Linked DNA regions of Homo sapiens: regions 1 and 2 are each linked to region 3. The links are contacts of gene promoters, found by promoter capture Hi-C in human tissues and cell types (Jung and others, 2019). All regions are on one chromosome and are shown on one strand. The core of a region is centred on a gene start or on the middle of the fragment in contact, and the rest is flanking DNA. Distances in the headings are between cores, read along the strand shown.

Region 1 (4,704 bases), core at 509-3,008, 66 kb after region 3:
AGAGCGTCTGGGTGTGTTCATGATTGGTGGCCTGGTGACCAGTGTTTCCCCAGAGCCTGGGTATTTAATCGGTGGGGTCCTGGGGTCCCTTGGAGCCTCCAGTGGGATGCTTACCTTGACTGTGTAGATCTGGAAATAGATGGGTTGGGTGCCCATGCGGATGTAGTAGGTGATGACGTCTAGGATGAAGGGGTCCACAGTCCGGGATGTGTCCAGGGAAGGAGGCTGTGATGGAGACAGGGAATGTCTTCACCAACTCCCCCAAGGCCACTGTGGGAGATGCCATTTTCTTCAGAGAGAAACTTCAAGCCCCTACATCTCTGGGATGCACTAACCCAGTGCGTCCTTCAACACATTCCAAACCTTTCCTACCACTGAATTTCCACTCCCAATCAAAATATTCCTGTCCAGAGCCCTGCCTCCCTAGGGAATCCGACTGATTTCAATCCTACAGAGACTACTGAGCGCTGCTATGTGTGAGGCACTGTGCTAAGTGATTGAGGGAGACAAGATGCTGGAGAGTGAATCTAATGAGAGACCCAGGAGTGGGTTCTAGGCTCGGATGGGCTACTTGCCATTGGCCAAGCAGGCGTGGGCAAGTTATTCAAACTCTATGAGGCCCGAGTGTCCTTCTACAGAAAATGAGAGGTTGAACCAGATGATCTGATGTCTCTTTCAGCTCTGGTGGTCTCTGCATCTATTAATAAACTAATTGGCTGGGTGTGGTGGCTCAACACCTGTAATCTCAACACTTTGGGAGGCTGAGGTGGGCGGGTCACCTGAGGTCAGGAGTTCGAGACCAGCCTGACCAACATGGAGAAACCTCATCTCTACTAAAAATACAAAATTAGCCAGATGTGGTGGCACATTCCTGTAATCCCAGCTACTCAGGAGGCTAAGGCAGGAGAATCGTTTGAATCCAGGAGGCGGAGGTTGCAGTGAGCCAAGATTGTGCCATTGCACTCCAGCCTGGGCAACAAGAGCGAAACTCCATCTCAAAATAAAATAAAACAATTCAGGTTTGCGTGTTATTGGGAATGGACTATGCGTCTTGTCCTCCAGTCCTTCCCTGGTCCCATATGATGATAAAGCATAGTGACTGGGTTTTCAGAACATCTACATAGAATGTGATAGTGTCAGGGCTAGAAGGAAGCTCAGAGTTGATCTCATCCAACTCATATCCGATCCTCTAAGACCTCTTCTATCTCTCACATCTGGTGTACTGAAATATTGTTCCCTTCGAAAGGGTCACACTGAGGAGCTATGAACGTAGTCTAATAATGCTGTCATTGCTCACATTGTTTCTGGTATCTTCATGTGGAAACCGCTTTTGGAGTAAGCATAGGGCCATTCAAATTGTTAATTACAAGGAGAAGGGGAAAACCAAAACCTTACAGTGTCCCAGCGGAGAAAAATAGCTACCAGCAAAGGAGCACCAATGGGGCCTGCATCAAATGTTCCCACTGTAATAGCATCCAAGTTTCAAGGAAAAAGTATTTTAATACCCAGCTAAATGGTCTTTGTGTGTATGCAAAGACATTTTCGGATCAGGTATAAGCCAGAAAATGTGCACCCCTAAATATCCTTATTCGAATAAAATATGTAAGAAGACACCCTCATCAGTCAAATGATAAAGCAAAATGGAGAGCTCAGTACAGTGACAAGTTAAAAAACAGATATGTAAAAGTGGTAAATTAATGTTATATTTTTTACCGCAGTTTTTAAAACTAAAGTAAATAAATGTGTATAAGTCAATAGCTTTCTTTTATATTAGCAGCAGGCACTACCCAAATATAATGGCATAAAGATACCATTCGCAATAGTAAGAAACACTATCACACACGAGTAATAAATTTAGTGAGAATTGGACAGAAGCTGTATGACGCAAACTTTACACTTATACTGAGGGATATATAAGGACACTTGGACAAATGAAGAGCTACACCATGCTCCTAGAGAGAAAAACTCAATATGCGAAAGATGCTAATTCTCCCCAAATTTCAATCGAAATCCAATAGGATTAAAAATAATAACAAAAACAAAACTTGAAATTCTAAAGTTTATCAGGAAGAGAAATAAGCATATTCTGAAAAGTTTTGAAAAAGAAGAATAATAGGGTAGGCAGGCTTCTATAGCCAGATATTAAAATATCAAAAGGCTAATTTGTACAGAAATGAATAAATCAATGAGAGCATAGGTATGTACTAAATACTTACAAGCACATGTAAGGATCACGTACTAAATACAAGCACATGTTAGTATCATGTACTAAATACAAGTACACGTAAGTATTTAGCAAATGATAAAAGTGGCATTTCAAATTTCTGCGGCAAGATGGTTTATGCAAAATAGCTTTAGGACAACTAGCTCAACATTTGGAAAAAATAAAATGACATACTTCACATTAAACAATAAAATTAACTGCAGATAGACAATTAATTAAATGTAAAAATTGAGACATGGAAAGTGTTAAATTATCAGTGAACATTTATTTAAGCTTTTGGAAGCATGACTCCAAAGGCAGAAACTGTAAAGAATAAAAGTGCTATGTCTGACTACACCCAAGTATTAAACTTCTGCAAGTCAAAAAGTGGATAGGCAAGTTACAACTATGGGAAAAAAATCTGCAACATATGTAACAACAAAAAAGTTAGAATTCTCTTACTATATAAAAGCCCTTTCAAATCAGTAAAAGATGAGTTCCCTCCCCACTGCCAGCCACGGTTGGGGTATGGCAGTGTGGGTTTGTGGTTAGGAGAGGGTGCTCTGGAGTCAAGCTGCCTGTTTCCAACTGGCATTCCACCACTCATTCTGTGACTTCAGGCAAGATACTTAATCTCTTTGTGCCTCAGCTGCTCTATCTGTAAAACGGGGCTATGGTGACAATGGTACCTACCAACAGGGGCACCTGCCTCTGGGCTGCTGTGGGAATTAAATGAGCTGCCCTGTGTGTAAGTGTTTAGAACAGTGCCCAGTGCAGCATAAGTGCTCAGGAAACATCAGCTGTTACAATCATTGAAAAATGATTCATTCCACTATAAAGACACATGCACACGTATGTTTATTGTGGCACTATTTACAATAGCAAAGACTTGGAACCAGCCCAAATGCCCATCAATGATAGACAGGACAAAGAAATTGTGGCACATATACACCATGGAATACTATGCAGCCATAAAAAAAGAGTGAGTTAATGTCCTTTTCAGGGACATGGTGAAGCTGGAAACCATCATTCTCAGCAAACTAACATAGGAACAGAAAACCAAACACCACATGTTCTCACTCGTAAGTGGGAGCTGAACAATGAGAACACATGGACACAGGGAGTGGAACATCACACACCGGGGCCTGTCTGGGGGTTGGGGGCAAGGGAAGGGAGAGCATTAGGACAAATATCTAATGCATGCGGGGCTTAAAACCTAGATAAGGGGTTGATGGGTGCAGCAAACCACCATGGCACATGTATACCTGTGTAACAAACCTGCATGTTCTGCACATGTATCCCAGAACGTGAAGTAAAATAAAAATAAATAGATAAATGATAAAAAAAGAAAAAGGATCACAGGAAGCTCACACAAGAAGGAGTATAACTGCCCTACACACTTACGAAGGAATATTTTACTTCGTCTTTTCCACGGTGGTCTGGTCCAAAGTACGAGCCTGGTAAGTGTCCCGAGTGAGTTCAAAGCCACTATCTGGTTAGGGCCCCTGTCTTGAATTCCCTTCATGTCTCATCCCACCTGACTCTTAAGGTCAAAGGTCAAGTGCAGCAGCAAAAAGATGGCCCCCTCTCACCCCCATTTCACCCTCGCTGCCTACTTGGGCTCCTCCGTTCTCCCCTCTGCCCAGACCCCACTCCCGTCCCTCTCTCCCTCCCTGGTACCCTCACCCTCCCCTACCATCTCAGCCAGCTTGTGGATGGCGGGGCACAGCGTGTTGACGTTGCTCTGGTACCACGGGTCTACGCGGCCCAGGAACGTAGCCAGCTCTCCCAGCTCCGGCTGCCTGGATGCTGCAGGCTTCTGGGGGAAAGGGGATGGGGCAGACCCGTCAGGCCCTCTCTCCAGCTCTGCCTTCCAGCTGCCATCAGCCTAGGCTGTGTGAATATGGTCAAGTCATTTAACCTCTTGGGGCATGAATTTCTGCATGTGAAGACACGTCGTTGTTCTGTTTTATAAACTCAGATGAAGCTAGAATATCTTTTGCTGAGGTTCACTCAGCAGGGACATTGAAAAATGATCACCGACTTTAAAAGGGGAGAGACAAGTATGGCTTTGACCTTACTGCTTCCCAATAGGAAGTGGAGTGTGTAGTAGGAAGTGGAGCATGCGGTAGGAGTAAGGACTGCAAGTGTGGCTCTGTCCCCACAACTAGATCAATGGACTTCACTGCCTGCAATTTCCTTTCATGTCATACCAGAAAGTGTGGGGTGTGTGTGTATGTGTGTGTATGAGAGAGGGGAGGGAAGGGGAGAGAGAGAGAGAGAGAGAGGAGAGAGAGAGAGAGAGAGAGAGAGAGAGAGAGAGAGAGAGAGAGAGAGAGAGACCGCCCTGTGTTTGAGAAGTTTGCAACTAATTCCATTACCTACAAAAACAAAACAAATAGCAGCAAGCAGGCTGCCATCAAGAGAGAGACCCAATCTCTGGCCACATGCAACCCCCAGAGCACCGTCTGCAGCCTCTGAAATAGAAGACCGCTGACCTC
Region 2 (4,431 bases), core at 1,566-4,065, 86 kb before region 3:
CAGCACAGATCTATGCCTGCTCTTTTTTTGAGTTTTTCTGTCTCCTTTGTCTTCAGGCTACCATATGGGTTGACACTGTGCTAACTGTGTCTACTTCTAGCAGCCCCTCCCTATTTTTTATTCGCAGTGGAGAAGGATGTGTTAAAAAAAAAAAGAGTAAACAGAATCACAGGGCCTTAAGACTTTCTTGCAAGTAAAGTTCTTGTGTTTTTTTTTTTTTTTGTTTGTTTGTTTTTTTTTTGAGACAGAGTCTCTCTCTGTCCCCTGGCTGGAGTGCAGTAGCGCAGTCTCAGCTCACTGCAACCTCTGCTGCCCAGGTTCAAGCAATTATTCTGCCTCAGCCTCCCAAGTAGCTGGGATTACAGGCGTGCGCCACCGCGCCTGGCTAATTTTTGTAGTTTTTTTAGTAGAGACGGGGTTTCACCATCTTGGCCAGGCTGGTCTTGAACTCCTGACATCATGATCCACCCGCCTCGGCCTCCCAAAGTGCTGGGATTACAGGCATGAGCCACCGCACCTGGCCGCTCTTGTCTTTAGAGCAGGACATTGTGAAGGTTATTCGAGGGGCTTAAAAGGTTTTGTTTTGGTTCATGGCCTAATTTTAGCTTTCCGTCTTTCTGAAAAGTTAAGATTTCTTCCCTTCTGAATAAGTGGGATGTTATTATAATGAAATGCACAAGTTCCTTTAGAACATGCTATGGCAAGCTATCCAAGTTAGAGCTGTTGCTGAGGGAACCAGGCAAAGCTTGCTTAATGTATAAACCTGGTTATTATATTTAAAATTCAAGCAGCAGCCAGAGATTCCTATCGGGAGAGGGAAGACTTTACTTTTGAAGAGGAAAAGTACTTAACTCCTAGAGGAAAGCGTCATTCCTGAGGTTTACCCTCATGGTCTGGAGACAAACACGTGGGACTTTTCTTTTTTGTGTGTGTTTCTAATAGTGGAAGAAAAGGAAAGCCAGGCTAAGCAGAGAAAAGTGGAAGAGGAGACACAGCAGCTCATTCTTTCCCAGTAGCCGTTAGACTGATTGCGGAGGGGAAGGTCAAAAGAGAAGTTCACAACTATGATACCAGCTCTAGAGGCGAAAGAACAACTGAGAGAGAACTATCCAAGAAGTGTTTGGATCCCGAAGCACAAAGGTGAGGAAAGAGCAAAATATGGCTTTCCCTCATAAAAGAAAATACAGCTGACCTCTGAACAACAAAGTGGCGGGCGTGGGGCGGGGGCGGGGGGGGGGCGGTTTACTCGCGCCGACAACCACGCAGCTGAAAATCCACGTACAATTTTTTTTTTACTCCCCCAAACTTTACTAATAGCCTTCTGCTGACTGGAAGCCATGCTGATCACATAAACAATTAACACATATTTTGTGTGTTATATGTATTATATGTTGTATTCTTACAATAAAGTAACCTGACTGGGCACGGTGGCTCACGCCTGTAATCCCACCACTTTGGGAGGCCGAGGCAGGTGGATCACGAGGTCAGGAGTTTGAGATCAGCCTGGCCAACATGGTGAAACCCTGTCTCTACTAAAAATACAAAATATTAGCCGGGCGTGATGATATGCACCTGTAGTACCAGCTACTCGGGAGGCTGAGGCAGAAGAATTGCTTTAACCTGGGAGGCAGAGGTTGCAGTGAGCCAAGATCGCACCACTGCACTCCAGCCTGGGTGACAGAGTGAGACTCCGTCTCGGGGAAAAATTAAAAAAAACCATATATATATATATATATATATATATATATATATATATATATATATATATATTAGTAAGCCAAAGGCCGGGTGCGGTGGCTCATGCCTATAATCCCAGCACTTTGGGAGGCCAAGGTGGGTGGATCACTTGAGGTAAGGAGTTCAAGACCAGCCTGGCCAACGTGGTGAAAACCCATCTAAAAATACAAAAATTAGCCGGGTGTGGTGGTGTGTGCCTGTAATCTCAGCTACTTGGGGGCTGAGGCAGGAAAATCGCTTGAACCCAGGAGAAGGAGGTTGCAGTGAGCTAAGATAGTGCCACTGCACTCCAGCCTGGGCAACAGACCCTCTCTCAAAAAAACAAAAACCAAAAAGCCCCCAAAAAACCCAATAAAGTAAGCCACAGAAAATAAAATGTTATTAAGAAAATCGTAAGGGGCCAGGCACAGTGGCATACGCCTGTAGTCCCAGCTACTCCGGAGGCTAAGGCAGAAGAATCGCTTCAATCCAGGAGGCGGAGGTTGTGGTGAACCAAGATCACACCACGGCACTCCAGCCTGGGCAAAGGAGCTATACTCTATCTCAAAAAAGAAAAAGAAAAAAAGAAAAAAAAGAGAAAAAAATCATAAGGAAGATAAAATATATTTGCTACTCCTTAAGTGGAAGTAGATCATCATAAGGTTCTTCATCCTCATCACCTTCACATTGAGTAGGCTGAGGAGGAAGAGGAAGAGGAGGGGTTGGTCTTGCTATCTCAGAGGTGGAAGAAAATCCACGTATATGGTGGACCTGCACAGTTCAAATCCGTGTTGTTCAAGAGTCAACTGTAGGTTAAACAATTAAAACGTCGAGGTCAAAGGATGAAGACATTAAGTTATCCTCGTCTCAAGCTAATGTCTCCTTCCCAGACTTCTCCCTCCCGCCGCCCTCACCCTCACCCACCACCCTGATGCCTGTGGGAGGGGAACCACAATAGGCCAAAGAATCCTAGATTTCAAAAGATCACCCAGTTTGTCATGGTTATTTAACCGTTGCAGAAACCAAGGCCCGCAGAGCTCAGGGAGGAATTCGAGTCCTCACTCCTAATCCAGCATGCTTTCCCACTGTATCATCCAGGGCAGGGACATCCCTGGAAAATTCAGCAATGTTCTCACTTAATAGTACTCCGCCCCCAGACTTATACAGAGCAATCTTTATTTATTTATTTATTTATTTTTTTGAGAAGGAGTCTTGCTCTGTTGCCCAGGCTGGAGTGCAGTGGTGCAATCTCGGCTCACTGCAAGCTCCACCTCCTGGGTTCACGCCATTCTCCTGCCTCAGCCTCCTCAGTAGCTGGGACTACAGGTGCCTGCCACCGCGCCTGGCTAATTTTTTGTATTTTTAGTAGAGACGGGATTTCACCGTGGTCTCGATCTCCTGACCTCATGATCCGCCCACCTCGGCCTCCCAAAGTGCTGGGATTACAGACTTGAGCCACTGCGCCCGGCCGAGAGCAATCTTTCCAAAGTTTGCTCCACAAAACACTAGCCCAGGAGATGCTCTATCATCCAGCAATTTCACTTCTGAATCGAAGTGGGGACTGGAACAGATATGTATGCTCCCCTGTTCACAACATCATGATTCACAATAGCCAAGAGGAAGAAACAACCCTAATCTCCATCAATGGATAAGTGGATAGATAAAATGTAGCATATACATATGGTCCTACAATTATTCAGCCTTAATAGGAAGGATATTCTGACACTTGGTGCAACACAGATGAAGCTTGAGAACATTATGCTAAGTGAAATAAGTCCAACATAAAAGCACAAATATTACACAATTCTGCTTATATGAGGTAGCTGGAGTAGTCAAATGCATAAAGACAGAAAGTAGAATGGTGCTTGCTAGGAGCCAGGAGATCAGGGAATGGGGAGTTACTGTTTAATGGATACAGAGTTTCAGTTTGGAAAGATGAAAAAGCTGTGCAGATGGATGATAGTGATGATTGCACATTGTTACAGCGTGAAGATACTTAATGCCCCCGGAATGGTAAACTTTGTGTTACATATTATTTTACCAGAATTTTTAAAAGGAGGACAAAATGAGAAGTGTTTCACTAATTAATGGTATCACCAAACAAGCAAGTCTGGGGAGGTCTGATTACATTTTCCTACACACACACACACACACACACACACACACACACTTGCCCTGGCAAGTCACAGTGCACATTCAATAAAAGACCCAGAGCAGTCCTAAATCAAAGACTATTTAATTCAATTTAATCAAGCATTTCCTCAACAGAACACAGAGCCCTTTTTATTTTTGTGGAACATGATTAACAGCCCACATCCATGGTGCGTCCCTTGGGAAATGCTGATAAGGAGCTTCATACTGCTCAAAGCATTTCCTCTGCTAGTACCTCACTGAATACTTCCTGCTGGCCAAAAAGACAGTCCCTAACAGTTAGAGCTCCAGAATCTTTATTGACTATTGGACAGTCAGTGAGTTAGTCATTAATTGTCTCCATTTTATTGATGAAGAAACTGTGGCCCAGGAAAGTCAAGCCCTAACCCAAGGTACTGCAAAGCTGCTCTGCCAAGATCAGTGGTAGAGCCACACCAAAACCCCAGTTTTCTAAACCCTGTCCTGGGCTGTGCCTCCCCAAACCCAGTGCTGATCCCCTGATGCTCCTTCTGGGTGTCCAGGTGTAAGCAAAGCAAGTTCATAGAAGAGCCTCAGAGCTCTGGG
Region 3 (4,165 bases), core at 1,003-3,502:
AGAGAAACTGTGGGTTTAGACGCTGCACCCTTCCCCAGGACGTGTGTTAAAGCAGGAACACAGTTGAGTGGAGAACAACCTTACCTTGTCTGACACCCTCAGGTCTTTGTCCCAGGCCAGGAATTTTTGAACGACAGGATCCCCTGTGAAAAGAGAGCCTGTGTCAGGGTGAGAAGTGGAACAGGGTTGCCGTGGGAGCAGCAGAGCAGAGAGGAGAACTGTGTCCCTCTGGGGGAAGTCTCAGGATTGTGGCCAAGGCTTAGGTGGATGGGAGAGGAGAGAAGGACTTTCACTGGGCAAGGAGGGAGGCTCCCGCTCTGAGATTCCCCTGAGGAGAGGCCGAAGGAGGCCTCTGGTGTCAGAGTCTACAGGATGAAGAGCTGTGAATAAGCCATGATGTCCTCCCATCAGACAGGAAGGGACCACTGCAGAAGTCATAATAGAATTCCCATCATTGCTTCCTGAGATAGTCACAGCTGGGTGTGCCCATGGCCTTGTTATCCCCCTCCACGGATGGAGACACTTAGGTTTAGAAAAGTCATCAAGAGACATAGAGTTTCAGAGGGTACAGCTGAAACCAAGCTTTCTTTTATCTTTTATTTTATTTTATTTTATTTATTTTATGACAGGGTCTTTCCTTGTCAACCAGGCTGGAGTGCAGTGGTGCAATCATAGCTCATTGCAACTTCAAACTCCTGAGTTCAAGAGATCCTCCCGCCTCAGCCTCCCAAAGCACCAAGATCTCAGGCATGAGCCACTGCACCTGGCCAGAAACCAAGCTTTCTTATTTCAAGTGCAGACCTTTATTAAGACTAGCCTAATCCTCTATCTCCTAAGCATCCTCCTCCTGCATGGAGCGCTCATCCCCCAGGAGGGCATATTCTTCTTATTGGGAAAGTGTGATTATTGAAAGATTCCACTTTTTTAAAAGAACAGGGTTGGAGGTGCTTTTTGGGGTATCCTCCTACCAAGGAGCCTGTTGAAGGCCTCGTGGTGCTCAGGGAGCACGGAGGATGCTCGCTTTCGCTTCAGCTTCATCTTGAGCCCACACAGCGTCTCCACCACCCAGGTGTCCTCGGGCTCAGGGGCGCGCTCCAACTCCAGCTCCTCCTCCAGCTCCTCCTCGGATTCGTCTGACCATTCGCTCTTCCTTTTCAGGCCAAGGGATTGAGGCTGGGGGCTGGGATCTATCCAAGGGGCTGAGTGAAGAAACCAGGCCATGGTGTCATGTTTCTGCCATTGATCACCTTAGACGCCCCGACCCAGGAACCTCAAACTACTCTTCCATCCTCCCAAGCCTCGCAGACTGTCAGCTTCTCCAAGCCATGTTTCCACCTTTCTCCTTTGCTGATCCCCATCTGCCTCTCCCTCACCTCCCCATTCTTCCGGCTCTCTGTCCTCAAAACATTTCCTCATCACAGATAAGAACTTTCAATTGGAGAAAAATGGAAACCTTCCCTTGAGCTCTGTCTGCTCTCTCTCTCTCTCTCTCTTTTTTTTTTTTTTGAGATGGAGTCTCCCTCTTGTTGCCCAGACCGGAGTGCAGTGGCACAATCTTGGTTCACTGCAACCTCCGCCTCCTGGGTTCAAATGATTCTCCTGCCTCAGCCTCTTGAGTAGCTGGGACTACAGGCACGCACCACCATGCCCAACTCACTTTTGTATTTTTGGTAGAGACAGGGTTTCATCGTGTTAACCAGGATGGTCTCGATCTTCTGACCTCGTGATCCGTCCGCCTCGGCCTTCCTCTCTCATCTTTTGAGCACATCTCCTGACCCCCTTCATTGCTCCCCAGACTTTCTTTACACGTGGCCATGCTTGGCCCCATTCCCTGCACCCTCCTTCCCCGATCCCTGGCTTCCTGAGTCCGTCGTTTCTTTCCCACACACCCTACTCAGGTGCTTCAGATTCCCAGTAACTGGCCCCCTTCCCTCTCCTCAGTCAATCATCTCCCATCGCTTCTCCCTCCAGTCACCTCACCTGATGGTCCTGGCACTTCATCATCCACCACCACCTCGGGGGACCGTACCGTTGTGCTAGGCTGGGGGCTCTCCTCCTCAAACGGGGGGCGCGCTTGACCACTGGCCATAATCTCTCCCAAACACTTTGTTTCTGTCCACAAAACCTAGTCCCTGTTCTGTCCAAAGCCTTCTTCCAGACTCCGTTAGGACCCAGAAGAGTGCGTTTCTCTTCTAGAGGCTCGGGAGAAGTTAGGAGTGAAGAGTAGTTCTGAGAAGTTGCTGTTGTCCACCTGAACTCCCAAGCAACCAGAGTCCGGTCCTTCCAATCAGGAAAGTCGGAATCTCTGATGTCATCGGTCATTCCAAACTGGCAACTACTTTGAAGAAAAACACATGTAACTGCCAGACTGATCTCTTTTCTTGGAGATCCGGGGTGAACGGTATCTCCTGGCAATGTCCCAACCTCTGAGCATTGTCCAAAAGCATCCTCAGGGTCTCCACATTCCTCTTTTCCCTGTCCCAGCAGAGGCTGTGTCCTCTCCACTCTAAACTTGAGGGGGTGTTGGGCTCTCCTCCCCGCTTCTCCTTCCCATTTCAGAGTCTAGTCTGGTGAGAGAGGGAGGAAGGTGGAAGGAAATTTAGGGTAAGCAGAATGATGAGTCCTTCCAAGAGTGAGATTAACATATACAGGAGATCCTGGGTAAATTGACTTGTTGAATGGAGACGTTACGTCGAAGTACTCAATGTGGCAAAGCTTTTTTGCTGAATGTTTACTGATATTCACTATCCTGGATCCTATAGTAGGGGAACATGCATCCTTTGCTCTCAGGCATCTTTGAGTCCAAGAGACATTTTGAGGAATGAAAATCACAGGAGACTGTCCATGGTTTCGTACAGATTTTCAATGGTGTCCACAAGTTCAGGGCATCCATGGATCACCTAAAGCCTGCCCTCCAGTTCAGCTAAGGAACTCTGGTCTATATATCAACTATTACAACATATCTATTTCACTTGACCCCAAAATTTGCCTACTATTTATGTATTTTATGAATAAAATATCCTGTGTATAAAAAGACTAAGGGGAAAATCTCAGCCAGGCCCAGGGGCTCCTGCTCATAATCTCCCTCCTTTGGGAGGCCAAGGCAGGGCGTCACTTGAGGTTAGGAGTTCAAGATTAGTCTGGGCAACATAGCAAAACGTCATCTCTACAAAATATAAACAAAGTAATCAGGAATCGTGGCACACACCTGTGGTCCCAGTACTTGGGAGGCTGAGGCAGGAGGATTGCTTCAGCCCAAGTGTTTGAGGCTGCAGTGAGCTATGATTGCACCACTGCACACCAGCCTGGAGGACAGAGTGAGACTCAGTCTCAAAAATATTTTTTTCGGAAAAAATAAAAATGTAAGAGCTGGATACTATCTCAGATACCATCCAAAGAACCTGTGAGTTCTGGCACAGCTTCCTAATGGGCTCCTAGGAGTCTCTCGCTGATGGGAAAGGCACAACTGAATGAGGAGGCAGATCCCGTCGCTGTGGAAGTCCAATTGTTAGGAAACTCTGCTTACATTGAGTGGACCTTCGCATTCACGATGCTTTCAACCATCAGAACTGGTTGGATCCTTTTACAACAAAACAGAAAATCATCTTTCTCTCCTATTTAATAGGCTTTCAAACATTAGAAGATCAATATTCTGTTGCCATTAAAATTTCTCTTCTGTACCACGTAAAGTTCTGATTAATCACTCTTCAAGCCAGTTTTACATATTCCTCTGTCTTCTAGGCACCTTCTGTAGACAGGCTACAATAAGGCAGCCATCTTAAATTATGTCAATACATTGTCCAAAAATGAGCTAAACAGTTCAGGTTTCATCTGATATGTTCAGGGAAAAGCAAAACTATCACTTCTCCCCTTCTCTTTTCCTTCAGTGATGCAGGTTAATACAACAATGGCTGTAGCTATGCACCAAAGATATCATTAGAGTGAAACAGAAGGGCTTTATTGGCTGGCATGGTGGCTCCTGCCTGTCATCCCTACACTTTGGGAGGCCAAGGCTGGAGAATCACTTGAACCCAGGAGTTGGAGATGAGTCTGAGTAACGTTGTGAGACTCCGTCTCTCCAAAAAAATTTAAAATTAGCCTGGTGTGGTGGCACACACCTGTAGTCCCAGCTAGTTCGGAGGCTGAGTTTGGAGGAGAAGAAGTG

The links. The method cuts DNA at HindIII sites, captures the fragments that hold promoters and counts their contacts. A contact is called where the count stands out against the background at its distance.
Region 1: a fragment that was not itself captured here is called in contact with the fragment with the promoter of SPDYE4 in region 3 in 2 of the 25 tissues and cell types used here (lymphoblastoid cells and pancreas).
Region 2: a fragment that was not itself captured here is called in contact with the fragment with the promoter of SPDYE4 in region 3 in 6 of the 25 tissues and cell types used here (H1 embryonic stem cells, heart left ventricle, liver and 3 more).

The regions. Positions count from the first base shown.
Region 1 is chr17:8,823,273-8,827,976 of GRCh38, forward strand. It overlaps PIK3R6 (phosphoinositide-3-kinase regulatory subunit 6), which reads right to left. Exons shown (of 20, transcript NM_001010855.4): 13 at 3,900-4,022; 14 at 115-225. Among named protein-coding and RNA genes, the nearest start is that of MFSD6L, 26 kb to the left of the region's middle. RefSeq lists an enhancer at 4,313-4,704. The HindIII fragment of the contact is 6,216 bases long and covers 1-4,704 here.
Region 2 is chr17:8,669,789-8,674,219 of GRCh38, forward strand. LOC105371525 (a long non-coding RNA gene) reads left to right here and starts at 794. Exons shown (of 4, transcript XR_001752781.1): 1 at 794-1,140. RefSeq lists an enhancer at 2,215-4,431. The HindIII fragment of the contact is 4,950 bases long and covers 341-4,431 here.
Region 3 is chr17:8,756,294-8,760,458 of GRCh38, forward strand. It overlaps SPDYE4 (speedy/RINGO cell cycle regulator family member E4), which reads right to left and starts at 2,253. Exons shown (of 7, transcript NM_001394956.1): 1 at 1,981-2,253; 2 at 969-1,199; 3 at 85-143. The coding sequence starts at 2,089. The HindIII fragment of the contact is 5,925 bases long and covers 1-4,165 here.